Regions from separate parts of the Homo sapiens genome. Here region 1 is linked to region 2. Evidence: promoter capture Hi-C in human tissues and cell types (Jung and others, 2019). All regions are on one chromosome and are shown on one strand. The core of a region is centred on a gene start or on the middle of the fragment in contact, and the rest is flanking DNA. Distances in the headings are between cores, read along the strand shown.

Region 1 (4,318 bases), core at 991-3,490, 1.4 Mb before region 2:
GCACCTCGAGATCCCAGAGCTGCATGCACCCAACACACGCCAGGTATTCCAGATGCATCAGACAGAAAGTGCCCCTGGAGGTGATGGTTGCAGATCTGGGGGCCTCCAAAGCCCACTTCGCCACTCTCTGCTTCAGTCGTCATACTGGACATGGACTGTGTCCCTGCACAGACCCTGTGTATACCTAGTCCGTTCACTGCACTGCAGGGACTCAGACTTGGTAACTGAGTGTATGAATGTGTATGAATGAAAATAGCATGTTGATTGTGTTGGATTATCTTTACTTAACAAAGTGGCATGCAGTTTTATGAAGTTTTAAATGGAATAAATAGTGACGTCTTCACATAAGCCTCCTTAGGAAGTGACTAATATCACCCACGCTTACAGGATGAGGAGGTTGAGCTTCACAGCTTGTGCAGCAGGCTGAGAGTCACGGAGCAAACAGGCCGCAGATCCTGGAATGAGCCCAGGCTGGCAGAGGTCAGAACCCAGTCTTGTGACCACAATGCTTTGCCACCTGTGTTAGCTTCCTGGGGCTGTCCTAACAAAGTCCTGCAATCTGCGTGGCTTAACACCACAAAATCAATTCACTTATAATCCTGGGAAGTAGAAGTTTGCAAGTAAGGTGTCAAGGAGGCCATGCCCACTCTGTAGGTTCTAGGAAAGAATCCTTCCACATCCCCCCCACCTTTTTTTTTTTTTTGAGACAGAGTCTTGCTCTGTCACCCAGATCTGTGGAGCGATCTTCTCTCACTGCAACCTGCACATCCTGGGTTCAAGTGATTCTCATGCCTCAGCCTCCCGAGTAGCTGGGACTACAGGTGTGCACCACCACACCTGGCTAATTTTTGTATTTTTTTAATTTAATTTTTTTTTGAGAGAGAGTTTCACTCTTGGCATCCAGGCTGGAATGCAATGGTGAGATCTTGGCTCACTGCAACCTCTGCCTCCTGGGTTCAAGTGATTCTCCTGCCTCAGCCTCCCAAGCAGCTGGGACTACAGGCATGCGCCATCATGCCCAGCTAATTTTTGTATTTTTAGTAGAGATGGGGTTTCACCAGCTGGTTTTGGCCAGGCTGGTTTCAAACACGTGATGTCAAGTGATCTGCCCACCTTGGCCTCCCAAAGTGCTGGCATTACAGGTGTGAGACACTTCCTGGCCCCAAATCATTCATTCATTCATTTATTCATTCTTCATTGAGTCATTCGGTAATTCCCCGTATAGTTACTAATCACTAAATGTGTGCCAAGTACGGGGCTCCTCACTTCGTACAATTACGGTATATTGTAGACACAAAGAGTGTCTTCATGGTGGGAACTGGAGGAGAAACAATGAAAAAGTGGAGAAATAGAAATAAATGACATCAATGATAAATTTTATGAAAGAAAATGTTAAAACTAAACCATGAAAACTAATACAGAAGCCTACTTGCCTACGGTGGTAAGGAAAGAAATCTTGGAGCTGGTGATATTTGCACTCAACAGTGATATGAGGTGTGGGGAGAGGGATGGAAGTTGAGATAGAGAGAAGAGCACGTGCAAAAGTCCTGGGGTGAGGGAAATGTGAAGGATCCATTTCTTTTGCTGTAAATAAGACAACATACTGTCCTGAGTGTACGTGGGTATTTATAAAGTAATAATATTTATCTAAAACTTGGAGTGAAGTATCTGAATGAACGTATGCTTCGAGTAAGGGTTATAAACCATTGTGTCTATTTATGTACAGATGAGAATACCACATATTCCAGCCCTGCCGTGAAGGAAAGGTGGAATCAGAGATGAGGAATCTTCAGCTCAGATAGGAGACACACAGAAAGGTTTGCATGTGGAAGTGCCAGCCTGTCAACCTCTCCAGAGGCTCCAGAAGTGAGGCCAGAATTTTGATGATAGGAGATAGACTTTGGAGGTCATCACCCACATCCCCTGTCATGGTCACTGTCATTGTCCCTATTCCAGGCAGTCAGAAGGAAAAATGAAGGATGAACATAATGCGTTGGGTTCAATGGGCCAGGGCTGGAAGCAGCCACCTCTCCTGGGCAAAGCCTCAATTTCACAGATCTTCTCAGGTGAGAATTGAATCACTGCAAATGAAAAGCTTGCCCTTGGGTTGTGTCGACAGGTTTGAAGCAGGCAGGGAAATCTATTCATGGCAGAGATATAAACGGTCCCTTTATTCTATGGGTGGATGTGGATCAAGAATTCTAGACACACAGGGTGAAGCCTGTGTCCAAACTAATAGGACCTTCACACTGTTTTCAGCATGGAGAGCTCACAAGTATTGGAGGATTGGGAGAATGGGGTGTCTAGAATAACGTAAAGCAACAGGAAGCTTGATTCACCCAGATGGGTAACCTGAGCATATGCCCTCCTATGGATCAGCTCAGGAATTCCACGCTGGCTTCAACACAAAGGCCTTTTCACCCGTGCTTGCTAACATTCAGATTCCCATTAAAGATGTGTGTTTTTAATTAATCATTTCAAATAAAACCTTGACATTATTTTGCATTAATTTTTCATGTTTAAGTAATTGGTTTAATCGAGAAACGGAAGTGCATGAGGCAGATACTAAGTTAGTTAGGTCATTGCAAATATTTAGTTGGACTTTTATCATCCCTCGGCCTCAGATTTTCTGAAGCCTCTGATGCCGTTCACCCCTCTGACCTACGTGAAAGTAGCTCTTATCTTGTTCACCTTTTGGACCTTGTTTCAAAAGTAATGATAGAAATGAGCAGTCCAGTTGAGAAAACAAGATACTCTGGGAGGGTAGGTGCTGAAAATTCTTGGAGAAACCAAAGCTGAAGACAAGACTCTCAATCAATTGATCTTGGCAAGGAATTGTGTTTTCTCTCTTCACTGTTTAATACTGGTCAATACAATTATGGATGTTTTGATCTGGAGTGATTCTTTGTTAACATCTCTCGTATTCATCCAGAGAATGTAAATAAGGGCATAAAACAAATGTAAATATTCCTATGATAAAATAATTATTCTGCTATGGAGAATATTGGATCTTGCTCCTTAGCGTGGGTTATTTGGGTGAAACACTGAGAAACATGAATGTCAAAGAGTCCTACACTGTGAAACCCCGTCTCTACTAAAAATACACACACACACACTCACACACACAAATTTGCCGGGCGTGGTGGTGGGCGCCTGTAGTCCCAGCTACTCAGAAGGCTGAGGCAGGAGAATGGTGTGAACCCGGGAGGCGGAGCTTGCAGTGAGCCGAGATCGCGCCACTGCACTCCAGCCTGGGGGACAGAGTGAGACTCCGTCTCAAAAAAAAACAAAAACAAAAACAAAAAAACAGTCCTAAGCTTTCTAGGACCAAGGAAGCAGCTACTCACTCGCAATCGCTAGAGTGTTCCCATCTTCCAACACCCACCTTGATTTTCTCTAGTCCAGCAATGAGTCAGGTCTCAGCATGGTCGAAGCAGGGAAGGAGCATCTCATGCTGCTTTCCTTGTGGTCATACCTTGCCAATGCCACTTCCAGAGGCAGGTTTTTCATTCCTTCTTTCAGCTTTCAGGGTCTGGATACTCTGAGGACACTGGTTTTGCCTCTGTGCATTGATGAATGCCTCCGTTAATCTGCAAGTGAAGAGTAAGGAAATTGCTTTTCACACATTACTTAGAGGGCTTTTGGTACTGTCAGCGAAGGACACTTGTCTGATGATATCGATGTCAACCACAACTTGCAAAATATCCCATAGACTCAAATTTTAGGAAACTATTCTAACCAAAGCTCATCATCTGAAAGCTGTTGCTCTATGCACAGGGTCCTGGGCTTCTCTGTGTGTGGCTCTTCCCCCCACACAGGAGACCCATCCTCTCGTGAGATCTTCACCCTGCGCAGGAGACCCGTCCTCTCCCGAGATCTTCGCCCCGCGCGGGAGATCCGGCCTCTCCCGAGATCTTCACCCCACGTAGGAGACAGGTCCTCTCGCGAGATCATCACCCCATGCAGGAGACCCGTCCTCTCGCGAAATCTGCACCCCTAGCATGAGATTCCCTCCTATCGCGAGATCTTCACCCAACTCAAGAGACCCGTCCTCTCCCGAGATCTTCAAGGCACGCGGAAGACCCGTCCTCTCGCGAGATCTTCCATGCGATGGCTCCTGCCTCTGCTCATATCCAAACTCCTCCTCAGCCAGGTGTCTGATGACTCCACTGCCATCATCCCAGAAATTTGTTCCTAGAGAACACAAACAAATTTCTTCTCTATTCTTCATACCAAAGAAAATACTATGATATTTCTGCATGTTTATATTATTGTTAAGTGAACGGCAGTAATTGCTTATCTTCCAAAACGAAGAGCT
Region 2 (4,186 bases), core at 959-3,458:
CTGGCTGGAGTGCAGTGGCATGATATCCACTCATTGCAACCTCTGCCTCCTGGGTTCAAGCAATTCTCCTGCCTCAGCCTCCCGAGTAGCTGGGATTACAGGCACCCACCACCACGCCCAGCTACTTTTTGTGTTTTTAATAGAGGCAGGGTTTCACCATGTTGGCCAGGCTGGTCTGGAACTCCTGGCCTGAAGTGATCCACCTGTCTTGGCCTCCCAAAGTGCTGGGATTACAGGCGTGAGCCACCGCACCCAGCCAGTCCTGCAAATTTCTTAAAGCTGCAGCTCACTGTGGCTGGAACGTGGTCAGCAATGGTCATGGAATAAGTAGAGGTAGAAAATGTGTGACTGTGTTAGGCTCCTCCATGCAGCGCCACCCACTGGACGGAAGGAGCACTAGCAAGAGTCAGCCACCCAGGAGCATATCACCTTTGTCCTGGGACCAAGCCCAGCTACTCTGGACCCAAGGGAGGACTGAGTCAATTAAACAAGTTTATCCAGATGTTTGGGTGTCACATAAGTTATAAGAGGGAGAAGTGTTAAAGAAGAAGCTATTGGCCAGGTGCAGTGGCTCACACCTGTAATCCCAGCACTTTGGGAGGCTGAGGTGGGTGGATCACTTGAGGTCAGGAGTTTGAGACCAGCCTGGCCAACATAGTGAAACCCCATCTATACTAAAAATACAAAAAAATTAGCCAGGCATGGTGGCAGGTGCCTGTAATCCCAGCTACTCAGGGGGCTGAGGCAAGGGAATTGCTTGAACCAGGGAAGTGGAGGTTGCAGTGAGCCGAGATCACACCACTGCACTCCAGCCTGGGAAACAGAGTGAGACTCTGTCTCTAAGTAAATAAATAAATAATAAATAAATAAACTATTATTGGAAGTTGGGGCAGGGGGGACAAAAATACACCCATGATCCTTTTTATTTTATTTCTTTTTTACATTTCTTTTAGATACAGGGGTACATGTGCAGGTTTGTTATATAGGCAAACGTGTTATGGGGGTGGGTTTGTTGTACAGGTTATCTCATCACCCAGGTATTAATCCCAGTACCCATTAGTTATTTTTCCTGATCTTCTCCCTCCTCCCACCCTCCAGCCTCTAGCAGACTCCAGTGTGTGGTGTTCCCTCTATGTGTCCATGTGTTCTCATCGTTTAGCTACCACTTATAAATGAGCACATGTGGTATTTGGTTTCCTGTTCCTGTGTTAGTTTGCTAAGGAATAATGGTCTCTGGCTCCATCTATGTTCCTGCAAAGGTCATGATCTCATTCTTTTTTATGGCTGCATAGTATTCCATGGTGTTTATGTACCACATTTTTTTATCCGGTCTATCACTGATGGGCATTTAGGTTGATTCCATGACTTTGCTATTGTGAGTAGTGCTGCAATGAACATACACAGGAATGTGTCTTTATAATAGAATGATTTATATTCCTTTGGATATATATCCAGTAATGGGATTGCTGAGTTGAATGGTAGTTCTCTTTTTAGGTCTTTGAGGAGTTGCCCCACTGTCATCCAGAGTAGTTGAACTAATTTACACTCCCACACACAGAGTATAAGTGTTCCTTTTTCTCTGCGACTTCACCAGCATCTGTTATTGCTTGACTTTTTAATAATCACCATTCTGACTGGTGTGAGATGACATCTCGTTGTGGTTTTGATTTGCATCTCTCTAATACATGATCCATTTTTTAAGAATACAGCATCTGTTATTGCTTGACTTTTTAATAATCACCATTCTGACTGGTGTGAGATGACATCTCGTTGTGGTTTTGATTTGCATCTCTCTAATACATGATCCATTTTTTTAAGAATAAAAACTTTGTTGAATTTGAGATCACTTTTAATCTAATGGAGCCTTCTAACCAACCATATATTTTCTAGATTTTAGCTTCACTGAATTATTTTACCTGCTTCTAATTTTTCTTTTCGCTAAACCTTTTGTGAAGGCTTTGATATTTTGCTTGCCTCTTCCCCAAAAGAAGTCATGGAGAATAGAAACTACAAACAATCCATTAGTCTAATGGACTAATCCCAAACATTCCATGCATCTTCAGTTTTTCCATAGGGCAGAGAATCTTTGAGGAAAGGAGGTAAAGGGAGTACCCGGCACGCAGAATACCTGCCAAGTAAGCATTACACGAATCTGTTTTCTTGGGTAGTGTTTTCATCTTCTTGTTTTATTGTTTTATGTCTCTGCAGGTCTCGTGTTTCTCTCTTCCAATCGGTTGTCTTTATCGTGGACACTGAGGTGTTCTCTGCCTTGACTAAAGATGAGTGACGTGAATCCACCCTCTGACACCCCCATTCCCTTTTCATCCTCCTCCACTCACAGTTCTCATATTCCGCCCTGGACATTCTCTTGCTACCCCGGCTCCCCATGTGAAAATGGGGTCATGCTGTACATGAGAAACGTGAGCCATGAGGAGCTACAACGGTTCAAGCAGCTCTTACTGACTGAGCTCAGTACTGGCACCATGCCCATCACCTGGGACCAGGTCGAGACAGCCAGCTGGGCAGAGGTGGTTCATCTCTTGATAGAGCGTTTCCCTGGACGACGCGCTTGGGATGTGACTTCGAACATCTTTGCCATTATGAACTGTGATAAAATGTGTGTTGTAGTCCGCAGAGAGATAAATGGTGAGTGTTGATCTGGTGGATAAAGTGGGGGTGGGCTTGGCTGCTGGGCAGCTAAACTACTCTAGTCACCACCCCTATCACTTATTGGCCTTCTGAGCAAGAAAGCAAACAGTGGAGGAAGATAATGGATCTAACCCAAAGGCAAAGACTGTCATACGGGCATTTTTTTAATTTTATTTTTCTGAGATGGGGTTTCGCTCTTCTTGCCCAGGCTGAAGTGCAATGGCACAATCTCGGCTCACTGCAAACCCCGCCTCCCAGGTACAGGTGATTCTCCTGCCTCAGCCTCCTGAGTAGCTGGGATTACAGGCACCCACCACCATGCCTGGGTAATTTTTTTTTATTTTTAGTAGAGACGGGGTTTCACCATGTTGGCCAGGCTGGTCTCGAACTACTGACCTCAGGTAATCCGCCTGCCTTGGCCCCCCAAAGTGCTGGGATTGCAGGTGTGAGCCACTGTGCCCAGCCCATATGGGCCTATTTTTTAAAAACTTAACTGAATACTGCTTATATGAGGTGAACGTTAAATGAAGTCATAGAGAAGTAGGAAGTAAAATAGTGGAAAAGCATATGCTATGGAAACAGCAGAAGACAGCTGGTATAGCTATGGTGATGTCAGGAGTGCTATATTTAAAGCAAGAAGGTTAAACACTTTAAAAGGCCATTTCGCAGCAACAAAGGGTGAATCCCACTGGAGGATATTGTAATCCAAAACCTCATCTTCAATATGAATAAAGCAGAGCTGGACTACAGTCATCCCCTTATCCAAGGTTTTGCTTTCTGAAGTTTGGGTTGATCATGGCCAAAAATAGATGAGTACAGTACACTGAGATATTCTGAGACAGAGAGAGACCACATTTACATACCGTTTATGATAGTATAGTATTATAATTGTTCTATTTCATTATTATTGTTAATCTCTTACTGTACCTAATTTATAATTTAAACTTTTATCATAGATCGGTATGTATTTTTTTTCTATTTTGAGATGGAGTCTTCATTCTGTCACACAGGCTGGAGTGCAGTGGTGTGATCTCAGCTCACTGCAACCTCCACCTCCCAGGTTCAAGCAATTCTCATGCCTCAGCCTCCCCAGTAGCTGGGATTACAGGTGCGCACCACCACACCCAGCTAATTTTTGTATTTTTAGTAGAAACGGGGTTTCACCATGTTGGCCAGGCTGGTTTCAAACTCCTGACCTTAGGTGATTTGCCTGCCTCGGCCTCCCAAAGTGCTGGAATTACAGGTGTGAGCCACCACACCCGGCCTAGATATGTATTTAAAAAAATCAGTATCCACATTGTTCAGTACTATCCACAGTTTCAGATATCCACCGGGGATCTTGGAACATAGACCCTGCAGAGAAGGGGGGACTACTGTATTAAAGGAAAATACACCAATCCAGAAACATGATAGGAGCTGTGAACCCGCCTCTCCCAATAGCTGATATTACAAGTAGTCAGTCTCATTGGTAAGAATGGAGAAAACGTCAGCTCCACAGTTTTAAACATAAACACAGGAGAGTGGGTGCCTTACGTCT

The links. The method cuts DNA at HindIII sites, captures the fragments that hold promoters and counts their contacts. A contact is called where the count stands out against the background at its distance.
Region 1: a contact is called between a fragment that was not itself captured here and the fragment with the promoter of NLRP8 in region 2, in 2 of the 25 tissues and cell types used here (heart right ventricle and liver).

Annotation. Positions count from the first base shown.
Region 1 is chr19:54,523,175-54,527,492 of GRCh38, forward strand. LOC105372460 (a long non-coding RNA gene) reads right to left here and starts at 3,936. Exons shown (of 4, transcript XR_001754038.3): 1 at 3,740-3,936; 2 at 3,386-3,590. The HindIII fragment of the contact is 4,451 bases long and covers 16-4,318 here.
Region 2 is chr19:55,945,624-55,949,809 of GRCh38, forward strand. NLRP8 (NLR family pyrin domain containing 8) reads left to right here and starts at 2,209. Exons shown (of 10, transcript NM_001433706.1): 1 at 2,209-2,646. The coding sequence starts at 2,280. The HindIII fragment of the contact is 14,722 bases long and covers 1-4,186 here.